Regions from separate parts of the Homo sapiens genome. Here regions 1 and 3 are each linked to region 2. Evidence: promoter capture Hi-C in human tissues and cell types (Jung and others, 2019). All regions are on one chromosome and are shown on one strand. The core of a region is centred on a gene start or on the middle of the fragment in contact, and the rest is flanking DNA. Distances in the headings are between cores, read along the strand shown.

Region 1 (3,894 bases), core at 1,327-3,826, 1.2 Mb after region 2:
CCACCCCCTCGTGGGCCATATTAAAGCTGAATGAAAATAGAAAGTGTGTAATATCTGATAACATTTGGTGGAGAAGGGGGAGACAGAAAAATTGAAGGATAAGAGAAAAGGAGACACATATAAAGCTAATTTTAGAGCGATAGATCACAAAGTAAGATTTTCTAGCTTTGTATTATCAGCATTGGCTTGGCTTTCTGAGTCTCGAAATTACTAGGTTACTGACTGGCCGTGCCTTTTCCTCACCTTGGCTATTCAGACCAAGCTGTACTCTTAACAGCTCAGTAGCCAAATCTGAATGCTTCAAATATAAGCATAAACTCTTTATGTGTAACTGATTGCACTTAATTGGGCAATACCAAATCATGGAAGAAAATTTATTAGTGACCCTGTCTCCTTCAGAACTTTCAGAGTAATTGGAAATGAGCCTAATATCCGTGTTTTTGAAAGCTTTAACAATTGGTCTACTGACAGGATTAAATTCATACTTTATATGGTGTGTATGTTTTTTCATGCTTAAGTTTTTTTCCTTATTTATTGATGGTCTTACAAATATTATTTGGAAATTGAGATGCAGTGAGCACAGATCTTAAATATCTTGGCAGACCGCCTCAGTAGCTGTGGATGATCCCTGTTAGCTAGAGAAAAACCAGGAAAAAAAAACCCAACCTGGTACACAATAGTTTACGAAATGATCTTTGTGTGATTTTGAACAAGCTGTTTTTCATTTTAATCTCAGTTTCCTTGCTTCTGTTACTGACCTAACTCATGGAGATGTGGCCAGGAGAGGGTGGGAGAGCTCTCTGAATTTTTTTGTTTCTCCTGAAATAAAACAGTTCTAAATAGACATACTTTTGTGTGATTACATTTTCCATTTTTCGCAAAGTCGTAGGTATAGTTTGAACACCAATTGAGAATAAAAGAAGCTGCCTTCTCCCAGTCTTTTCAAGACATTTTAATAGTTAATGAGATTTTGCCCCTTACCCTCATGAGTTTCATTTGGTTCTGAAATAAAAATTTACGGCTGTTCTCTCAGCTGAGCTGATACTAGTTTAAGAGTGGAATTGAGTTCACACCTGCTCTGGCATAAAAAGCCTCTATGTGACTTCTTTGAAATATTCACAGAGCAGAATAAGAGAGAGTACTCACTATCTCTACAACTGTAGTAACTACACGGTAATGTTGCTTGCAAGCACTTTAGAGAAGCTGCTCTATAAACTGACTCTAATCTGCTGATATTGTCCACAGATAGATGCCTCCCCTAAGTCACCTGTGTTCCTCAAGGTGGAATGTGGTTGTGGAAATGCAGTTGGTTTGTGTAGGCAGTGGGTCTACATTAACACTGTAAAGTGTACATATGGGAAAATCTTTGCATTTGCTAGGCCATTTAGCCGTTCAAGACATGGTCCGTTAGTCAGGCAACGTACAATGGATTTTCTGAGTGTTCTAGTTAAAGAGCAGGATGTGTAAAGTAGTATACATTTAGGCGGATAATTAATAATTGGTGTAGGCTTGTAAGGCTGTAATAGAATATATAAATTTCAGCACCTGTTAAAGTTTTATCAGAGCAGATCACCTTTCCTTACTGTGAGGGAATATTCCCGCCTGTAGAAAAATAAAGTGCTCCCACTACACGTGAAAAACCTTTATGATGAAAGGAGGACTGGTTTTTATAACAAATATTATTTTCCATGGTCACTGTGATTAGGTGACATTTTAGCAGTCACATTTAGAGAGCGTTCCTAGACAATAGTATTTTGTATGGGTTTGACTGTAGGTGGCAAAACACTGCATAGAAACAATATTTTAGTGCATTCTAATATTCAGATACAGTTTACTTGTCAAAGAAGCCACCTCCCCCCCCATATCATCCCCCCACAAAACAATAGGGTTGTTCATTTTATAAGTTCATCACAAGTAAATATTCAGAGCGAAAGCCTTTTCTAGTGGCTACGTTGGAAGGGGTAGAGAAGATGAAACATAGATCCCAAGTTCAGTTTTTGGCTTTGGTTGTATCATAAGCAGTTTTTACACTTCATATCTTAGCTGTCTTCATTTTCAGACATAGAGGAAGTGCTCCCTTACAGCAGTGAGGGAAAGGGCAAATGATATATTTGTGAAAGCAAAGCAGACTATCTTACTGCTTTAAAAGTTTCATTGGCTGCTTGATAAATAAAATTAACATGTTATCGATATGTCTGCAATCATATGGTCCTCAGTATATGTATTTTTTAAAGCCATTTATATAAATTCCATTTATTCTAGAAGCTGCCCAAAATGATAAACTTCAATACTCAAATGAGTCTTTGGTTCGTACAGTCATTCACCCAGCAAGTACTTTTGGGAAGCTGGTGATCTGCAAGCCCTATGTTAGGTACTAGATAGTGGCATGCTACTTTTCTTGCTTTCAACTTGGCCCACATCCTAATAAAAGAATCAGGTAGATATCAGATAATTACAATTCAGAGAGTTGGGGAAATAATCCATGTGTTCCCAGGGTGTTGTTGCATACATATCAGGGATACTCCACCATCAGCTTCCTCATAATAATGTCTAATTTTTTTTTTTTTTTTGAGACGGTCTCACCCCGTCCTTCAGGCTGGAGTGCAGGGGTGCTTACTGCAGCTTCAAACTTCTGGGCTTAAGATCTTCCCTCCTTGGCCTCCTGGTGGCAGGGACTGTGGGCACGTGCCACCACACCTGGCTAATTTTTTCTATTTTTATTTTTTGTAGAGACAAGGTCTCGCTCTGTTGCACAGGCTACTCTGGAACCTCTAGCCTCAAGCAGTCATCCTGCCTTAGCCTCCCAAAGATTACAAGTGTGAGCCACTGTGTCCAGCTTGGCTAAGATTTTTTTTTCTTTTTTTCCTTTTTTTTTTTTTTTTGAGACAGAGTCTCGCTCTGTCCCCAGGCTAGCATGCAGTGGCGCGATCTCCGCTCACTGCTAGCTCCACCTCCTGGGTTCACGCCATTCTCCTGCCTTAGCCTCCTGAGTATCTGGGACTACAGGCATCTACCACCACGCCCAGCTAATTTTTTGTGTGTTTTTAGTAGAGACAGGGTTTCACCGTGTTAGCCAGGATGGTCTCCATCTCCTGACCTAGTGATCCGCCTGCCTCGGCCTCCCAAAGTACTGGGATTACAGGCGTGAGTCACCGCGCCTGGCCTGGCTAAGATTTTTGGGTACTCACTGTGTACCAGGCACTTGCTAAGTACTTTACACATATTATCCTGCTTGCTCCTTATAATAAACTTCTTTGTTAGACATTGTCATTACCATTTTACAAAGGAGGCAATTGAGAATCAGAGAGATTAGGTTATTTGCCCAGTGTTGTGTAGCTGGTAAGTGGCAGAATCCAGATTTGAAGCAAGATCTGCTGAACTCTAAAGCCTTGTCCTTACCCACCACTGCATTGCCTCCTTTGTAGAGAATTTAGAAAGAATTCCCAGAGGTGGAATAGCAGCTAAACATGGGTTCAGCTGCAACTAATAGAATACCTGATAACAATGGTAGGTTAGTAAAACAAAGGGGTTTTTCCCCTTCATTTTAGGAGGTGTCTGGAGGCAGGAGGTTGCCTGTGTGAGTTCAGCAAATCAATGTTTCTTTCTTCCCATTCTGCCCTCCTTAGCATGCTGATTTTCATTCTTCAGCTTTTTCCTCTCCTCTTGCATTTCTTTCTTGCAAGCTGGCTCTTGAGCCTCACACAGCACATTAGAGTCCCCTAAAGGAGGCAGGGGAGGCAGAGGTTAGGGTAACATTTATCCTTACATATATCCTATTCCATCCAGGAAGGGGGAAAAACATTACCAGAATCTGGTGGCCTTGAGCAGGATTCTGCTAACAACTTATTGGCTAAACCTCTAGCAGACATCTACTCATAGCTGCAAGGGAAGCTT
Region 2 (3,890 bases), core at 1,101-3,600:
AATGCAATAGATCTTCAAAACATAATAGTGAGACAAAAAAACTGCACGATATCATCTCTATAAATTAAAAATGTGGGCACCCAGAACAATATACATTTAATAACACATACAAACAGAAGAATACACATCATACAGAATGGTTGCATATGGGTTGATGAGCAAGAGAAAACAGCGGGAATTAGAAACAAAAAACAATGAATGAGACTGGATGTGGTGGCTCACACCTGTAATCCCAGCACTTTGGGAGGCCAAGGCTGGTGGATCACCTGAGGTCAGGAGTTCGAGACCAGCCTGACCAACATGGTGAAACCCCATGTGTACTAAAAATACAAAAATTAGCCAGGCATGGTGGCACAGTCTGTAATCCCAAGCTAGTCAGGAGGCTGAGGCAGGAGAATCGCTTGAGCCCGGGATGGGGAGGTTGCAGTGAGCTGAGATCACGCCACTGCACTCCAGCCTGGGCAATAAGAGCGAAACTCCATCTAAAAAAAAAAAAGAAGAACGAAAAATGCAGGCAGGGGAGATGCCTTGAACAGCCCATTGAATTGAGTAAGATTAACTCCATCCTCTGCACCTGAGGTCCAAAATGAACTTTAAGGACTCATACATCTAATAAACATCACACCACTAAAGCTAAATGTCATCCTACCCCTCTCACGAAGAAAACACAAAACAAGCTCACTACTTTGAAGATTTTCGATGCTAAGTGTGTTACATGGAGAAACCACCCAACTTCCTTTAACTTCAAAACGGAACATATATCAAAGATAAAAGGAAACTGTAAGATACAAGGGTCACTACCCCTAAAATTTAAGTTAAATTCTTACAGGGATATTCAAACCAAGCCAAGCCCAGTCCCTTTGATTCACCCAGTCACCGAGATCTTTTAAAATTTAGTTACAGGTGGCAATAAGAAAAAATAAAGGGCATACTCTCATTTTTCTCTTAAAGTATTTCTCTGAAACACTCTTAAAATAAGGATTGGCAGTAAAATAAATGAATTTTCTACCATAATCCCTAATTGACATTAATAATAAAGCATTAATTATATTTATAGTGGTTCGTTTTCCCAATTTATAATAACTAATATGTATTGTTCTGGATGGAACTAGACAGTTTTTTATTCTTTGTAATAATGAGGGCATTTCAACACATTATGTTCACTTTTAAGCTGACCTTCATACAGCCACGAGTTTGTTTATAAAGCAAGAAGCAGAGTCAAACTAAAATTTTTGTTTTACAAAATGTCAAAAACTCAGTTAATTTCTTTCATACAACAGGCAATTCCTGCAACCTTGCCCATAAAATCCTAAGACATAAACACCTGAAAGAGTCAGTTTGCCTTTTTTTGTCTCATGGCAAATATTACAGTGAGAGGAAGCTATAGCTGCCACTGACCGAACCCTAAATTCAGCAGCATCAACAATATCAATGCAGCCTGTCATGCGACGGTAGGTTCCCTAGTTTCAGACTATCTAACCCAGCAAATTCTGCCTCAAAAAGTGACATACTAAGTGGGTAAAAAACATAAAACAGCAATTTTTGAATCAAAGTTAGGGTAGTGCTGACTTCAAACATAGCTTCAGAACGCTGGGACCCATCACTAAGTGAATGGGAGTGACTGGCATCCGCTCAGACAAGTACTAGGGCAAAGGGATAAGAACTGGCAGATGGCATCTCAAAAATGAAATTCTAACAGTGGTGTCAGTACCTTGGGCATGGGCAAAAATAGTACCAACAGGAAAGGAAAGACTATATGAACCCCAAAAGCAAGCACATCGCCCAAAATTGCTGTCAATAACCACCAACGATCATCACCAATCACCTGATCCCGTTTAGATTGCACCTGGGAACCAGGCAGTCCCACCTCAAGACCAAAGCAACTGTCACAAGTAGCAAATATCACTCACCAGGCAAGGGAGCCACAAAGACCCCCGGCTGGCCCCCACGCTCTTGGTAACGGCGCCTACTTTTGGGCCCGACCTGCAGGCTTGCAGCCGCAGCGATCTGACAGCTAGCACCGCCCCCGGCTAGAGCGGGTTTGTGACCTTTGACCCCTGACCCCTGACCTCCACGGTGCAGGAACATCCCGCCCTGTGGTTTCCCATGGAGAAGCTTGAAAGCCCCCTTACCTGTCACAGCTTCATCTCATGCCGCGATGTAGCCTATCAGACCGCCGGTGGGCGCCCCAGCCAAGGAGGACAAGGATAGGGCGGAACTACGGAGGATGCGGGGTGCGTAGATCCTGCTGGGATAATCCGTGGGGCGGCAAGCGCTATACAGCCGCCGTCTCCCCAGTGATACTGCAAGGTGCCGGTGCCGCCGCCGCCGCCACTGCAGTAAATCAGCTGACACCAGCCCCAACTGCCGTGACTTTCGCTGCAACTGTCGCAAAAATGAGGGGGCGGGAAAGACTCACCATTTCCCTACTTGCAAGGCCTAAGCCGGCGCCGAGAGAGCCAGCCGCGTTACGATGGAGACCGAAAGTGGAGAAAAGGCCAGCTGTGGGCAAGGAGTGCACGGCCGCCATCTTGGTTGTGGGAAGTCTCGTCTAGGCTGTCCTCTCTCCAGTTGGGAGGACCAAGATGGAGCGAAGGATGAAGTAGCAAGTGCACGTCTTTCTTGGGAGCAGGATGTTGCGCAAGTTTACACTTCTGACCCCATCACACTGCTTCCCACTGAGATGCAAGAGGTAGGGAATTCCCTAAACACTGGAAAGTATGTTGGATGCTGGAAAGCTAAAAAGAATGACAAATGTCCCCCAAGATAGATAAGCTATAGTATAGTGCAGGATGAGAAATGCCAAATAAGGAGCAAGGAAGAAAAGAGATGAATTATTTCTAGGTTGGGGTAAGGAAGGATAATCACATTAGGTCATATGGAAGTCTAGAAAAATTGGTCAGATTTGGAATAATAATTGGGAAAGGAAAACAACTTTGTCACCAGCATTGAAATGTAAAACATGAATATATGCAATAAATAGAAAGTTAAATTTGGAAGAAATACAAGGGACGTGAAGTAGGTGAAGTGGGAAAATGTGGTATCAGGGCTTAGCTGTTTCTGCTCCGTGAGCGGCTCCTTTAACAGGCAGTCTATGCCCTGGAGCTCTCTTGTGGGTTGATAGAGACTTCATCACATTCGGCCTAGACCAGGTAATAAAAAAGTAACATGGAAAAATAGAATAATGTAGATAACAAGAGGCTTTTAGTGGCCATATAAGCTTTTTGGTCTTTATTCCAAAGACAATGAAAAGTAATTGAAGACTTTTGACTAATAAATAGTGTAGCACTTTTCCTAACCACATGGTATTCAGGTTTTTAAAATTGCTTTACAACAAATTATCACAGTCTTAGTGTCTTAGTGGCTTAAAGCAACACATATGTATTGCCTCACATTCCATGGGCAAGGAGGTCAGGAACAGGTTAGCTGAGTCCTGTGCTCATGCTCTCACAAGGCTACAAGTGGATGTCAGCCAAACTGCAATTCTCATCTGGAGGCTCAACTAGGGAAGAATCTGATTCCAAACTCCTGTCAGCTCATTCAGTTCCTTGTGGCTGTCTGACTAGGGGCCCTGGCTTCTTACTGGCTCTGAACTGGAAGTGGCCATCAGGTCCTAGCAGCCACCCACAGTTCCTTACCACATGGGCCTTACTAAAGGCTCTCTCGCAACATGGCAGCATACTCCTTCAAAGCTAGCAAGGAGAATCTCTCTACTGAGCACAAGAAAGGAGTCACACAGATATAGATACAGCCATGGATATGGACATGGACATAGATATGGAAATGGATGTAGATGATAACCTAAATTAGGGAGTGACAGCCATCACCTTTGCCATATATTATTGGTTAAAGTAAGTCACGGGTTTTATCTGTACTCAAGGAGAAAGGAT
Region 3 (4,158 bases), core at 135-2,634, 1.1 Mb after region 2:
TTCACCTAATGGGAAGCTGTAGCTTTCCCTTCATTTTGCTTATAAACCTTTAAAAAAAAACCCAAAAAACCAGACAGTATATTATTTTAGATTTAGATAAGACCAAACTAAGATTTAGTGAGCATTTTCCATGAACCAATTTCTGTGCTTTCAGATATGTCATAGAAAAAGTTAAGTGAACTGTCATCCCTGTTTAAGAGTCAGGGATACTGAGGTTGAGGTTAAATGACTTGTTCAAGGTAACAGTTAGAAAATAAACAAACAAGACTTCCAAACTCACGTCCAGTCATCTTTTCCATCTACAGCCCTGTCTCCGTAAGTCATCACTGAATGATCGCTGTTACACACACCTTTGGAATTTGTCTTTTATCACATACACACCACCACCACCATTTTCTGGAAACTTCTTTTAAACCCAATCTGACTTTTTAATCAAGTCTATATTTGCTAGTCTCAATAGCTGTTACCTTCATCCTCTTACATCTAAGGGCATGTTCACCAGGAGTCTTTCTCCGGAATCACCAACCTCCTCTTCTCTCCTGACTCTTCAGCATTTTAATATGCTCATTTCTCCTATCTTAAAATTAAAGATGGATTTTTAAATTTAAAGATGAATTTAAATACGCCCACCCCCCTCCAAATTTTGAGACTAACTTTTCTCTTCATTTTGTTCTGTCCTTTTCAAGCCAAGTTTTCTCACACGACATTCTGTATATAATGTGCCATGATCTGGCTTCTTTCCACAACACTCTCTGAAGATTCCACCTCAAAACGTCATCAGTAGCATGTGTGATTGGCTTTGACCTTTCTACTGCTTTACCTCTTTGAAGCGTTGGACTTTGGAACACAGCCTTCTTCTATACCTCCTACTCTCTTTCAAAACTCAGCTCATGTCTACCTCTTCATGGGAGTTTTTCTTAACACAGAAGACTGATCTGATTGTCCCTCCAGCTTGTCCTCTTGTATGCTGGGGCATATGCCAGCAATCACAGCTGCTGAGATGCTTAGTCTTCCTGACGGAACTGTAGTTTTTGGAGTGGTCAGGATCATGTCTTCAGAACTTGCACCCCAGCCATGTGTCTGCACGTAGTTCAGTGACCAGAACATAGTCAACACTCAGTACATGCCTGATGAATGAACAAATGAGTGTGACCATACTTAACTTGGTGAGGCCATTTTTTTCCGTGAGTTTTATACTCTGGGTTGTTTTCCTACCTTGGATTCTCTGACTTTTTTCTCTCTCATCTACTTGCCTGACTTTCTTAGGTCTTTTAACTTTGTTTCTCCATCTTTACATTAAGTGTTGGGATACAGGGCTGAACAAGAACAGGTAACTGTCTTATGGCTTTACGTTTATGTGTTTTCCTCTGAAATTAGGCAAATTTCCTAATCTTGCTGAAGTTATTTTCATCCTTAAGAAAGTAATATTATAGGTCTTTATAGAGTGGGGCAGGATCAAATGAGCATGTTTATTAATTGCTTAGCATTATGCCTGGCACAAATTCAATTACCATTATATGGTAATAATTTTAATAGTAATAAACCATATATTACACATGTATTATTCATAATCAGATGATGTATGCATTATATAAAAATTGTACTATTCTATAAATATTGTAAAAAAAGAGTAAATAATATACATCAATTGCTTTGTGCATCCATATATTTTTACGTGTGCTCCTTTTATTAAATCATATGTTTTTCCTCAGTTTATTGGTTGCTTTTTACTTACCAAAAGCTTCTGTCCAAAAAAAATCAAATGCTGCGGCTGCCCTGAGCAGAGTTCACCTTGGAAGAGGCTTTAATTGTGATGAACCTGTAAGAACAAAGTTTAAGAATTGAGATAATCAGCAGCTGTGTATTTCTTTAAATTTTTATATTTAATGATTTATTTGAATTAACTGTTACCACGTTTACATCTTCTAGATTAGTTTTTAGGCCTTTACTTTTCCTTGGCTGTGGGTACTGACCAGCATGGTGGTAGGTATGATTGGGGTGTGTGTGTGTGTGTGTGTGTGTGTGTGTGTGTGTGTGTGCATGGATAGATGTGTGTGTATGCTCATGGATGTGCATGTGCATGCATGAATGCATAATATTTCAAACACATGCTCAGTGATTGAGTCACTGTCAGGAAGTAAACTTGGAGACCATGTTGCTCGATGCCACAATAGTCCTGTTATTGCATTGTCACCACAGGATGCCATTAAAATAGGTATGAAGAATGTCAGTGTTCATTAATTTGGTTCTCTTCAGAGAACATTAGCCATGGGGAAAAGATACAGTAGAAATCTGAGAAGAGATGGAAGATAGGAGAGAAACCTGGCTTTTGAAGAATGATCTTTGATCTTTCAGAAGAGGAATACATGTCAAGAGCTTATCTATGTGAAAGAATTTACATGCAAAGCAAATCAAGAACATAGATTTTGCTTATCTTTATAGATTATAGTTTCATCTTAGATGGCAAAGAAAAGCCAGGCTTCTCTATACAAAGGGATTTGCATGTTTATGATAACTCAATTAGCCTTAACAGAGACTACCAGTATATGCTGGCTGTCTGGCCTCAAACTTTAATGCATATGTATTTTCAAAGAGAACTAAAAGATTTTGGGATTGTAACACAGAGAAAGAAGAGATAGAGAATTATCAAACATTGGGGATCAGCTTTAAAATTATAAAACAAATTATATATGTTCTGAAAAATTACTTCAGGAATAAGCAGCTTTTTTTTAAATATGAGAAAGCAAAATCATATCCTGTATGCCATTAAAGGTTATTGCGTTTTCCAAATTTATAGTTGCAAGTGATGGAAATTTTCTTTAACAAACTGAAGGATGCATTTGTAGTCTAAATGGTAGCTTTGAGAGTAGTTAGATATTTATGGAAAAATTATAAGAAGCAATGTGCTTTTAAAATTTTTTTTTCAAAAATAGATATTGGTTAGGAAAACTACACTCTTTCACTATTTGGTAATGCATATTCTGACTCATTCACACAGTCATTGTGGCACCTAAAGTGTTGCAAAATTAGACATTTATATGGAGATGGGCTATTGATGTAAAAAAAAAAAAAAAAGCTGAGGGCTAGGAATGATAAGACATGAGTAGAGGGTTTTAAAAATGAGCTCTTTGTTTTCCACTCTTCATCATGCCTAGATCTCAGAGAGGTTTTGTCCAGTGAGAATAAAGAACCCATGGGAATTATGCAGAAATCACTGTCCAGTAAAAGGAATAGTTTTCCTTCAGTGACCAAGGGTGGGACCTGAAGTCAGCACTAGTCAGTGACGCTGTTTTATCGTCTTCATGCCAGGTGAAGATTTGCATAGGTGAAATGCCCACTTATTAGGAGAATTACACCCTGACAGAAATCCAAAAGATGGTGCCCCTTTATCTTCTATCAGGGGATTTCATCTAATACTAGAAGGAGCAGTAAGATACCATGAGTTTGTTACCAGTTATTCACTGGCCTGATCCTGAAGGTCATTGCCTTTCTTCAGTGTTATTTGCTCAGTATCCTGCCTGCTACCCTTAAGCACTTACTTTGCCTATTGAAATCTTACTAGCTATTCATTCAGAAGTACCAGTATTTCTTTCAAGGTTGATCTTATGATGCTACTGTATTTTTTCTTGCCTTTTAATTATTTTTTTAACTTTTTATTTTGAAAAATTTTTAAACACATGCAATGTATACACAGTAGTAGAATAATCTTCTGTGTCACCATCATACAGTTTCAATATTTACCAGCATTCTGCCTTCTTGGCTCATCTATATATACCACTCCCACTCGATTTTGATAAATTCTTAATAATAGACTATGAGATCCTTGAAATTTGAAACTATAATTAAATATCTGTCTATAGACACCATACACATATATATACAGCTATATATGCACATACACACATATATGCATAGACACACACACCTACCCCTTTATTTTATTTTTTATTAAAATGTAACGTATCCTCATTGTGGAGATAGCCAATGTTAATATTTTGATTACTGTGTAGATTCTATCTTCCATTGGTTTTTAAAAACATAACATGAAATTTGTTTATTGCTTTTAAACTTCATATTTTACCATGAATATTTTCCAATGTCCTTGAATGTTTTGAAAGTGTGATTTTTAAAGGCAGCGTAATATTCCATCACATGGAT

The links. The method cuts DNA at HindIII sites, captures the fragments that hold promoters and counts their contacts. A contact is called where the count stands out against the background at its distance.
Region 1: a fragment that was not itself captured here is called in contact with the fragment with the promoter of WDR7 in region 2 in 1 of the 25 tissues and cell types used here (dorsolateral prefrontal cortex).
Region 3: a fragment that was not itself captured here is called in contact with the fragment with the promoter of WDR7 in region 2 in 1 of the 25 tissues and cell types used here (dorsolateral prefrontal cortex).

What each region holds. Positions count from the first base shown.
Region 1 is chr18:55,445,973-55,449,866 of GRCh38, reverse strand. The region is part of intron 5 of TCF4 (transcription factor 4); the gene reads left to right. Among named protein-coding and RNA genes, the nearest start is that of TCF4-AS1, 4.6 kb to the left of the region's middle. The HindIII fragment of the contact is 5,079 bases long and covers 37-3,894 here.
Region 2 is chr18:56,649,819-56,653,708 of GRCh38, reverse strand. WDR7 (WD repeat domain 7) reads right to left here and starts at 2,350. Exons shown (of 28, transcript NM_015285.3): 1 at 2,133-2,350. RefSeq lists an enhancer at 2,230-2,619. The HindIII fragment of the contact is 8,093 bases long and covers 1-2,668 here.
Region 3 is chr18:55,512,287-55,516,444 of GRCh38, reverse strand. All of the region lies in intron 3 of TCF4 (transcription factor 4), which reads left to right. Among named protein-coding and RNA genes, the nearest start is that of MIR4529, 35 kb to the right of the region's middle. The HindIII fragment of the contact is 4,870 bases long and covers 1-3,819 here.